Linked DNA regions of Homo sapiens: all the other regions are linked to region 3. Evidence: promoter capture Hi-C in 16 types of primary human blood cells and fetal thymus (Javierre and others, 2016). All regions are on one chromosome and are shown on one strand. The core of a region is centred on a gene start or on the middle of the fragment in contact, and the rest is flanking DNA. Distances in the headings are between cores, read along the strand shown.

The links. Contacts are between HindIII fragments. The CHiCAGO score rates a contact against its expected background, and 5 or more counts as called.
Region 1: a fragment that was not itself captured here is called in contact with the fragment with the promoter of CD4 in region 3 in 8 of 17 cell types (naive CD8 T cells, total CD4 T cells, total CD8 T cells and 5 more); the score reaches 11.7 in naive CD8 T cells.
Region 2: a fragment that was not itself captured here is called in contact with the fragment with the promoter of CD4 in region 3 in 1 of 17 cell types (non-activated CD4 T cells); the score reaches 5.6 in non-activated CD4 T cells.

Annotation. Positions count from the first base shown.
Region 1 is chr12:6,586,292-6,589,884 of GRCh38, forward strand. CHD4 (chromodomain helicase DNA binding protein 4) reads right to left here. Exons shown (of 40, transcript NM_001273.5): 23 at 2,007-2,131; 24 at 1,421-1,658; 25 at 1,093-1,268. Among named protein-coding and RNA genes, the nearest start is that of CHD4, 19 kb to the right of the region's middle. The HindIII fragment of the contact is 7,516 bases long and covers 1-3,593 here.
Region 2 is chr12:6,927,362-6,930,837 of GRCh38, forward strand. It overlaps ATN1 (atrophin 1), which reads left to right and starts at 598. Exons shown (of 10, transcript NM_001940.4): 1 at 598-1,023. It overlaps LOC124902868 (a long non-coding RNA gene), which reads right to left and starts at 335. Exons shown (of 2, transcript XR_007063194.1): 1 at 166-335. RefSeq lists silencers at 207-256, 437-596. The HindIII fragment of the contact is 3,716 bases long and covers 1-3,476 here.
Region 3 is chr12:6,787,509-6,791,049 of GRCh38, forward strand. It overlaps CD4 (CD4 molecule), which reads left to right and starts at 2,020. Exons shown (of 10, transcript NM_000616.5): 1 at 2,020-2,154. RefSeq lists enhancers at 1,504-2,061, 1,877-1,926. The HindIII fragment of the contact is 6,468 bases long and covers 1-3,541 here.

The DNA of each region.
Region 1 (3,593 bases), core at 39-2,538, 200 kb before region 3:
TCGGGAGGCTGAGGCAGAAGAATGGCATGAACCCGGGAGGCAGAGCTTGCAGTGAGCCAAGATCGCACCACTGCACTCCAGCCTGGGGGAGAGAGTGAGATTCCATCTCAAAATAAATAAATAAATACATACATACATACATACACAAGGAGGCCTGGTGTGGTGGCTAACACCTGTAATTCCAGCACTTTGGGAGGTCAAGGCAGGAGAACTGCTTAAGGCCAGGAGTTCAAGACCATCCTGGGCAACATAGCAAGACATCTCTAAAAACATTTAAAAAATTAACCAGGTGTGGTAGCACACATCTACTAGGGTCACTCTTCAGCCCAAGAGTTTAAGGTTGCACTCAGCTATGATTGTGCCACTGCACTCTAGCCTGGGTGACAGAGCAAGACCCTGTCTCTTTTTTTGTTGTTTTTTTTTTTCAAACACAGTCTGGCTCTGTCATCAGGCTGGAATGCAGTGGCGCAATCTCAGCTCATTGCAACCTCCGCCTCCTGGGTTCAAGCAATTCTCCTGCCTCAGCCTCCCGAACACCTGGGACTACAGGTGTGCTTCATCGTGCCTGGCTAATTTTTTTATTTTTAGTAGAAACGGGGTTTCACCGTGTTGGCCGGGCTGGTCTCAAACTCCTGGCCTCAAGTGATCTGCCTGCCTCGGCCTCCCAAAGTGCTGGGATTACAGATGTGAGCCACTGCACCTGGTAGAGACCCTGTCTCTTAAATAAAAACCAGAAAACACAAAGAGATAGATTACCTAGGATCTTCTGCCTTTTCTCTAGAGAGATGAGGTAGCATTCAAAATTTCATTTGTAAGGTTTAATAAAACACATAGGAGAAAATGACATTCTGGTAAAGAGCCAAAATAACTGTTGTGAGCATGATATTTGGTTGTAAGTTTTCTGACAACCAAGGCAAAGATGAAAATCTGATTAGTCATGTTATCAGCTTTGTTTTCAAAGGAAGAGGATCAATTCATCAACATAAGAATTTGCCTACAGATATTTTCCACTTGTCTCAAATACCACCTTGGTCTCAATGCCAATTTTCAGACCAATTACCAAGCACAGGATTGCCTTGGATTCATACTCACCCCCATTTCTTCTTCCCGTACCACATACTGGGCCACTTTGAATGAGCTCAAATATTCATTCATGCCCTGCAATTCTGTGTCTTCAGTCTCATCCTGGTTACGGTCTAGCAGCCGTTCAATGGCCTTATCATCGTAGTGGATAACACTGCTATCTTCTCCCTCTTTGTTGTCTCCTCCTATAAAAAATCAAGGGCCCACATCCCCAAAGTCAGTTTCAGCAGCTGCAGTGGAAAAAGCAAGTCCCACAAGACCCTTGGTATCAAAGATTCTCCCTAACCTTTAGAGAGGCCAAGCCCCACACCAAAACGTAAGTTCCTGACTACCTCACCTCCATCAGTGGCTTCATCCTTGAATAGTTCCTCAGTGCCAAATTTGAGGATATCATCAAGCTCCTGTTTGGACATAGATCCAGTCTTGGAGCCCAGCCCAGGCCGCACCACTAGATGCGTCAGCATCATTTTCTTCTTTGCCACCTGCGTGATGCGCTCCTCCACTGACGCACGGGTCACAAACCGGTAGATCATTACCTTTTTATTTTGCCCAATCCGGTGAGCTCTGCTAAAGGCCTGGAGTTGAACAGGAAATAAAGCCAGAAATTGTATTTTCCTGGTGCCACTCTTATCCTGACTTCCACATAATATTCTAAATTCAGTACAAGGCAAGGTCCACAGCCTACATTCATAGGAAACTTCCTTTTGCACCCCTGCCTCCAGACACCACCCTCTATTATCATGTTACCCAAAATAGGATCACAGCTAACCAAACTCTGGCTTACAATAAGGTAAACAACACAAAAAGAATCTGTTGTTTCTCACTTAAAAACCTAATTCCAGATGGTGGAGCCCTCATAGAGGCCACTATGCCTTTCTAGCATAACATGTTACTTATTAAGGCTGCCTGCTGCCTCTGCTCACCTGAATGTCATTATGGGGGTTCCAGTCAGAGTCATAGATAATAACTGTGTCAGCAGTGGCCAGATTGATTCCAAGGCCCCCAGCTCGAGTGGAAAGCAAGAAGCAGAACTGCTGAGCACCCGGTGCTAATAAAAGAACCAAAAACACCATTAGAAGTGTCTCCTAAATTCCAATTCATAAATGTAGTTTAAAAAATTAAGCCGGGGGCAGTGGCTCATGCCTGTAATCTCAGCACTTTGGGAGGCAGAGACAGGTGGATCATTTGACATCAGGAGTTCGAGACCAGCCTGGCCAACACGGTGAAACCCTGTCTCTACTAAAAATACAAAAATTAGCCAGGCGTGGTGGTATACACCTGTAATCCCAGCTACTCAGGAGACTGAGGCAGGAGAACCGCTTGAACCTGGTAGGCAGAGGTTGCAGTGAGCAGAGATTGCACCACTGCACTTTAGCCTGGGCAACAGAGCAAGAAACTCCATCTCAAAAAAAAAAAAAAATTTAGCTGGGAATGGTGGCACACGCCTGTAGTCCCAGCTACTCAGGAAGCTGAGGCAGGAGAATCACTTGAGCCCAAGAGTTCAAGGTTATAATGAGCTCTGACTGTGCTACTGCACTCCAGCCTGGGCAACAGAGCAAGACCCTAACTCTTATAGAAAAATGTCAGAATAGGCCAGGTGCAGTGACTCACACCTGTAACCCCAACACTTTGCGAGGCTGAGGTGGGCAGATCACCTGTGGTCAGGAGTTCGAGACTAAGCTGGCCAACGTGGTGAAACCCTGCCTACTAAAAATACAAAATTAGCCAGGTGTGGTGGCAGGCACCTGTAATCCCAGCTACTCGGGAGGCTGAGGCAAGAGAATAGCTTGAACCCGGGAGGCAGAAGTAAAAAAGAAAGAATGTCAGAATATAAAACCTCATTAGGCAAACACCACAGTAATAATCATTGTAATCAAGGTCCACTGACGAATACTAATATCGGTGTGAAAGTTTAAGGAGAAACAGGACACTGACATAGTCTCAAATATCTCCCTCAAGCTATTTATCAATCACAATGGGAACAATAGAAACTTTACACTGCAGAAACTCAGCAGGCACCACCTTAACCAGTGATCAAGTCATTACCAGTAAGGGGACATATGAACATCATGTCCGTCCCCCAGTATGATGAACTGAAAAGGACACATCATCGACTGGGCGTGGTGGCTCACGCCTGTAATCCCAGCACTTTGGGAAGCTGAGGCGGGTGGTTCACAAGGTCAGGAGATCGAGACCATCCTGGCCAACATGGTGAAACCCTGTCTCTACTAACAGTACAAAAATTAGCCGGGCGTGGTGGCGGGTGCCTGTAATCCCAGCTACTCGGGAGGCTGAGGCAGCAGAATGGCTTGAACCCGGGAGGCAGAGGTTGCAGTCAGCCAAAATCAGGCCACTGCACTCCAGCCTGGTGACAGAGCAAGACTTTGTCTCAAAAAAAAAAAAAAGAAAAGGACACATCATCACCTCTGTGGCATTCTTGCCCAGAATGTCTAATCTAATCAAGAGAAAACATCACACAAACCCAAACTTAAGAGACATTCTACAAAATA
Region 2 (3,476 bases), core at 584-3,083, 140 kb after region 3:
CCCACAAAGCCCCCAGGCAGCTCCATCTTTCCAATCCAATCCCATTATCCCAATCTCTACCCCAGGATCCCCCAAACTCCTCCCACTTCACCTCTGCCACAGACCCGCTCGCCCCCAAACTTCAGCCTCCCCTCATCTGCCCTCACCACCCACAGCCCCTCCTACCTAGCCCTCTCCCGCGCCGGGCCCGCGGGCTCCCCACATTCCGCCACGGCTAGCCCTCCCCGCGCCCCGGCCCCCTCGGCCTCGGCCTCGGCCAACTCGCGCTGCGCCTCCCCCTCTCCGGCTCCCCCTCTCTCCCCCCTCGCGGCTTGCCTCGCGCTCCCTCCCTCGCGTCTCCCTCCTGGCCCCTCTCTCCTCCGTTCCTCCGCGCTCCCTCCTTCTCCCTCTTCCTCCCTTCTCCCATCCCCCTCTCCCAGGCTCCCTCCCTTCGCCGTCCGCTTTCCTGTGCGAGTCGCCGGACGCACCGCCCAGCCCGTCCGCAGCCCCGCGCCGGGTCGGGGCCTCGGGCCGGGCCATTTCGGAGGGACCGCGGCTTCGGGGAGGGGCTAGGAGGGGGGAGAGGGAGCCGACTGCCGGGGAAGGGGCGGGGGCCGCGGGCGAGGCGGCCGAGGGGCCCGGGATCGCGCGGGTGCGGGCTGCGCTAGGCGGGCGCGGGCGGCGGCGGGTCGGAACCGCGCCGAGGGCCGGGCGGGCCGCGGGGCCGGGCGGCGCGGCGGGGGCGGGCGGCGCGGCCCGGGGCATTCCGGGCGGCCAGGGGGAGGCGGCGAGCCCGGGGAGGTGGGGAGCAGAGCGGGGATCGGGGTTTGCTCCGGGGGCCGGCGGGCGATTGGGGCCAGGCGGGGAAAAGGGGGGATGGGGGCCGCCCTCCGGGGGGGTCGGGGCCGCCGCCGCCGTCGTCGCGGCGGCGACTGAGGCCGAGAAGAGGAGAGGGGGGCGGGGGAGCTGCCGCCGCCGCCCCCCAGAGGCGCCGGAGCCCGGAATCCCGCTCGGAGCCAGCCAGCCGTCCCGAGCTACCAGCAGGTAAGGTCTGCGGCCGCCTGGGCCCCGGGCCCGCGGGGTTCTGTCCCGCCCGGGCTCCGGCCTGCGGCTCCCCACCCCCACCCCTCCCAGTTCCCCCTCCTGCCGCCGCCGCCTCCATTTGTTATTTTCCCAATCCCGTCCCCCCACTGCGGGCTCTGCCTGGCCTGAGGGCCGGGGGCTCAGGGGGTGGGGCCCGCCGAGGAGAGTCGGGGGCCAGGGTTTCGGGAGGATCGGGAAGGTGGGGAAGGAGGGAGGGTCTCCGGAGGAGGCCTGTGGGGCCAGAGGGTATCCGGGACCCGCAGACTCAAAAGAGGAGGAACATCGAGGCCGGGGTTGGCGGAGGAAAACGGGGGATGCTGTGAGTGGGGTTCCGGGCGAAGGCAGAATGGATAGGAGAGATGGCAGCGAGGTGGGGCATGAAGCCTCCAGGAAAAAGCTCCAAAGGACCAGAACACGGGTTCCGGAGCCTGGGGTTGGGGGCTTTAGGAATAGACGGGAAGTGGGAAACGGGAAAGGGGTGTGGTAGGTGGAAAGAGGGATTGTGGCTGATGAACCTGGGGGAGACGGAGGCTTGGGCAAAGAGAGGTCCATTTTTGAGAAGAGCCGGAGGTTTTCCAGCGTGGAAGAGGGAAGGCCATGTCTTTGTGACGGTTTTCATTCCCCTACTGCAGGTCACCTCTGACCCTGTTTTCCCTATCCCAGACATAGTTATTTCTTGGAGAGGGCACTGGGGCCCAGTAGTGTGGGTTATCCCAAAACTAGTGAGGAGGAAAACAGGAACACAGAAGGGGGAGTTGGGAAGAAAGGGGTTCTGGGAGGATGGAAATGGAGAATTGAGCAACCTTACAGGCACTCCAGGCAAGTTGCGACCTCCACCCTCCACCCTCCAATTTCCGGAGCGTCCGCTGCCCCTGGAGCTGTGATCTATATAGGGAGGCCTTAGTTACTGCTTTGAGCTCAAAGATCTCCCTTTGTGCATGGGCTTATTTTGACTAGGGTAGGTACCTTCAAGCTCCCTTACCTGAGGTGCTATAGGAGGGTAGGAGTTGCTTTGGCAACTGGGGTAGGGGGTAGCTGCCAGATGGACACCTGGGATGGTCTCTTGAGGGGCACCTTTTGCCACTGTGTTGCTATGGTAGTGATCCAGTGGGATGTCAGATTGGTTGGGGGGGCTTCGAATGTTTATTGGACCTCAGCCTGTGGCTGTCCTTGGGACTCTGGGCTGGGTTTTGGAGGTTGTTTCTGGATCTGTTGGTGGTTGGGAGTTTCCCCACGGTGTGCACCCTTTCATGTTGAAGTCTGTTGGAACAGGTAGATACGTTCCTTGCAGATCATAGGTGTTTCTCCAAGTCTCTCCACCTGGGCATGATGGGAGGATGAAAACGCTTCTGTTCAGGTTACACCATCTTTTGGCAGTTGGTTCTGACCTCTACCTCCCTTATTATGTTATTTTTTGTAGAGTTGTCTTTTTGCTTCTTTGCACTTTCTTTCATTTTCTAAAACTTGAATTCCTCTTTGAGCCTCCCTTCTTGAGTAACCCTTTTCCTCTTTCCCTCAACTAACCTTTGGCCTTCTTCCCTGACCTTGTAGAAATGGCTGGGCTCCCAGGCCCATCCCAGGTGAGGGTGGCCCAGGACAGAGGGCTGTGAAACAGCTTCATGCAGGGGAAATACTATAGAACAGGAGCCAGGAGACCTGTGTCTAGACCTGGCTGTGCCTCTGTGACCTTGGGCAAGTCACTTCTCTTTGAGCCTGGGCTTCATTGTTAAGATGAAGGGGCTATAGATGAGATGATCTCTGAGGCCTCTCTGAAGGTCCCGGATTCTCAGAAGGCTTAGGCCAGTGCATCGTTATCTGCTGGTCTGGGCTGCATTGTTATCTAGGAGTCACTTTGGACTGGTTTGTTAGTCTGGCAGGTCCAGAATGATGTTGGGGGCTGGGCCAATGATCCTGAAATTTAGCCTGCGAGCCCCTCCCAGAGAGCTTGTGACTCCACTGTATTCCTTCTGACATCCCATATTTCTCTCTTAATTTCTTTTCCTGTTCTTACTTAGGGGCTCTTTTTCTAGTTCTCACTTTCCTCCCAACCCAGTCTGGTCTTAATCATTTTCTTTTTAAAGTAAGGTAATGGCAGTGCGCAGTGGCTCACGCCTGTAATCCCAGCACTTTGGGAGGCTGAGGCGGGCGGATCACGAGGTCAGGCGATTGAGACCATCCTGGCTAACACGGTGAAACCCCGTCTCTAGTAAAAATACAAAAAAATTAGCCGGGCGTGGTGGCGGGCGCCTGTAGTCCCAGCTACTCAGGAGGCTGAGGCAGGAGAATGGCGTGAACCCGGGAGGTGGAGCTTGCAGTGAGCCGAGCCGAGATCGCGGCACGGCACTCCAGCCTGGGTGACAGAGTGAGACTCCGTCTCAATAAATAAATAAATAAATAAATAAATAAAATAAAGC
Region 3 (3,541 bases), core at 770-3,269:
TGCCTTAGCATAAATGAAGGCAGTGGTGCCAAACCATATGATAGTCATTGCATTCTTCACTGCCAGGTACTTACAGTAAAAAAAGAAAAAAAATTAATGCCACTTTTACTTAAGAATGCCCTTAATGAGGCCGGGCGCAGTGGCTCGTGCCTGTAATCCCAGCACTTTGGGAGGCCGAAGCGGGCAGATCAGGATCACCTGAGGTCAGGAGTTCAAGACCAGCCTGGCCAACGAGTGAAACCCTGTCTCTACAAAAATACAAAAATTAGCCAGGCATGTTGGCGGGTGCCTGTAATCCCAGCTACTCGGGAGGCTGAGGCAGGAGAATGGCTTGAATCCAGGAGGCGGAGGTTGTAGTAAGCCGAAATCATGCTGCTGCACTTCAGCCTGGATGACAAAGCAAGACTCTGTCTCAAAAAAAAAAAAAAAAAAAAGAGAGATCAAGACCATCCTGGGCAACATGGTGAAACCCCATCTCTACTAAAGATACAAAAATTAGCTGGGCATTGTGGCGCATGCCTGTAGCCCCAGCTACTTGGGAGGCTGAGGCAGGAGAATTGCTTGAACCCGGGAGGCAGAGGTTGCAGTGAGCCAAGATCACGCCACTGCACTCTAGCCTGGGCAACAGAGTGAGACTCCCTCTCAAAAAAAAAAAAAAAAAAAAATATATATATATATATATATAGAATGCCTTTAATGAAGCAGTAAATACTAATTTTATTAAATCTCAACCCTTGAGTACGGTGTGTCATGAAATGAGAAGTAGCACACAGTACTATATGCTACAGATGAAGTACAATGCTGTCAAATAGGGGTACTTGTGTTAATTGTTGGAGTCGCAAGCTGAACTAGAGTTTTCTTTTCTTTTCTTTTCTTTTCTTCTTTTCAAGACAGGTTCTCACTCTGTCACTCAGGCTAGAGTGCAGTGGTGCAATCACGGTTCACTGCAGCCTCAACTTCCTGGGCTCAAGCGATCCCCCCACCTCGGCCTCCTAAAATGCTGGGATTATAGGCATGAGCCACCACTCCCAGCCCCACTTTTTTCAGACTGGAAAACGCACACTCACATGTGCATCTTTAAATGATCACTTGGGCTGTGGTATGGAGAATGGCGACCAGTGAGGAGGCAGGAGCTGTTGTCCGAGCAAGGGATGATATTGGCATCTTGGATTGGCATGGTGGCAGTAGTGGTAGTGCAGAGTGACTTGGGTAGATTTTGGAGCCATTTAGAAGGTAACATCCACAGGAACTGGTAAATAAATACGTGGGAGAAGTTGGGTGAAGGGGGTGTCAAAGATTACACCCAATTTATTTTGCTTGGGCAAGTTGGTGGATGGTGAGCCCCTCACTGAGTGAGAAGCCTGGAGAAGCAGGTTTGGAGGGTGGTAGTATGCAGGTGGTATGCATAGTTGGGGATGTGTGTTGAGTTTGCTATGTCCGGTGAGCTTCCCAGTGGAGATGTCCAATGGGCAGACGGATACTCACATAGAGAGTTCATGGTAGATTCGGGCTAGAGGAAAGCACCTGAGGCCTGGCCAGAGACGCCTAGAGGAACAGAGCCTGGTTAACAGTCACTCCTGGTGTCTCAGATATTCTCTGCTCAGCCCACGCCCTCTCTTCCACACTGGGCCACCTATAAAGCCTCCACAGATACCCCTGGGGCACCCACTGGACACATGCCCTCAGGGCCCCAGAGCAAGGAGCTGTTTGTGGGCTTACCACTGCTGTTCCCATATGCCCCCAACTGCCTCCCACTTCTTTCCCCACAGCCTGGTCAGACATGGCGCTACCACTAATGGAATCTTTCTTGCCATCTTTTTCTTGCCGCTTAACAGTGGCAGTGACAGTTTGACTCCTGATTTAAGCCTGATTCTGCTTAACTTTTTCCCTTGACTTTGGCATTTTCACTTTGACATGTTCCCTGAGAGCCTGGGGGGTGGGGAACCCAGCTCCAGCTGGTGACGTTTGGGGCCGGCCCAGGCCTAGGGTGTGGAGGAGCCTTGCCATCGGGCTTCCTGTCTCTCTTCATTTAAGCACGACTCTGCAGAAGGAACAAAGCACCCTCCCCACTGGGCTCCTGGTTGCAGAGCTCCAAGTCCTCACACAGATACGCCTGTTTGAGAAGCAGCGGGCAAGAAAGACGCAAGCCCAGAGGTAAGGTGGTCAGACTCGGCTTCCTTCCCCGGAGCTGAGAGGGAGGGGAACGTGGGGCAGATGCACAGGAATGTGCTCTGCCCAGTTGTCTGCCCACAGCTCTGGCCACCTTCTCTTGCATTTCTCTTGGAACTGGTCATGAGCAGCGATTTCCCACTGGAACTGTGAGCTTCCAGAGGTCAGAGACTGTGCTAGACTCCTCTCTGCAGCCCCAGCGTGCACAGCTCAGTGTCCAGAGCAATGGGTGCTCCTTAGAGGAGTAGTGACCTAAATAGCAAGATCAGAGAGGGAGTGAAGACTGGAGACTATCCCAGGCTGGGAAAGGCGTGGAAGGCAACTAGTCGTGGGCAGTTGAGGGGAGAAGACTGGAAGAGGGGAAAAGAGGAGAAAAAGAGTGAAGAAGGGGAGGGAAAAAATTAGAAAGAATAAATAAATATAAGGTGGGAGGAAACCTATAAAAAAGAAATGATGAGGAAAAACATAAAAACAAGAAAAAGAGCAAAAGAAGTGGAATCTAGTCTAGAGAAAATTCTTGCAAAACCAATTTTCCTTAACGGGACAATCTCCAAAAATTGACACCAAATATCATACTTGCAGCATTTCATAAGTCGCATGATCTATGTAATAGTCTCTTTTAACTACCTTTTGTGTTTCTGTGTGTATTTTTAAATTTTTGTCTGCTTCTTTGCTCTTTTAAGATTTTTGAACAATGTCTAAAGGCACTTCTACTCTAGTTAGCTTTAAAATGATTCATGAAATAGGAAAGCTAAAATTCTCAGAAAGTGTTGAAACTGAGCTTTTGCGTATGAATTGCCCTAAAAGTTGCAGATACATATCTTTAGATAAATATGTCATTTAAGAAACGGATTCGAAAAGAATTGGTGGTAGGGGTCTCATGAGGCCGGGAGAGTTACAGAAGGATGTGCAGCCCCTCCTGGGCCTGGCAGGGTGTGAGGGAGAGTGAGGACTCACTGTCCCTCCTGAAGGGAAGCCCTGTGCCATCTCAGCCTTTCCGCCCTCAGACCTTTCCAGCCCCTGAGACCTCATGGCCTTGAAGCCGTGCTATCCCCAGTGTCCTCTGCTTTCCCCTCATAGGCTTCTTCTGGGAGAGAGGTTTCCTGGGGTACGTTCTGATCCCTCAAAACGGAAAGGCCCTGTTCTCAATAATTCAAAGATTTCACTCTGAGTGGGATAGTGCTTCCTGAATGCCCTGCTCTTGTGGTGGACATTTTTATCGGGGCAAGGCTAAGAGCAGGGCCTGATGGGGGAAGTCACTGCTACTTCACATTTTGACCAATAATTCCTTGTGCTGTATCAGATGCTGTAGGCTGATACAAAATGGCCGCCGCCCTCAAAGTCAGATGAAAGAGCCCCTGAGGACAGCGTT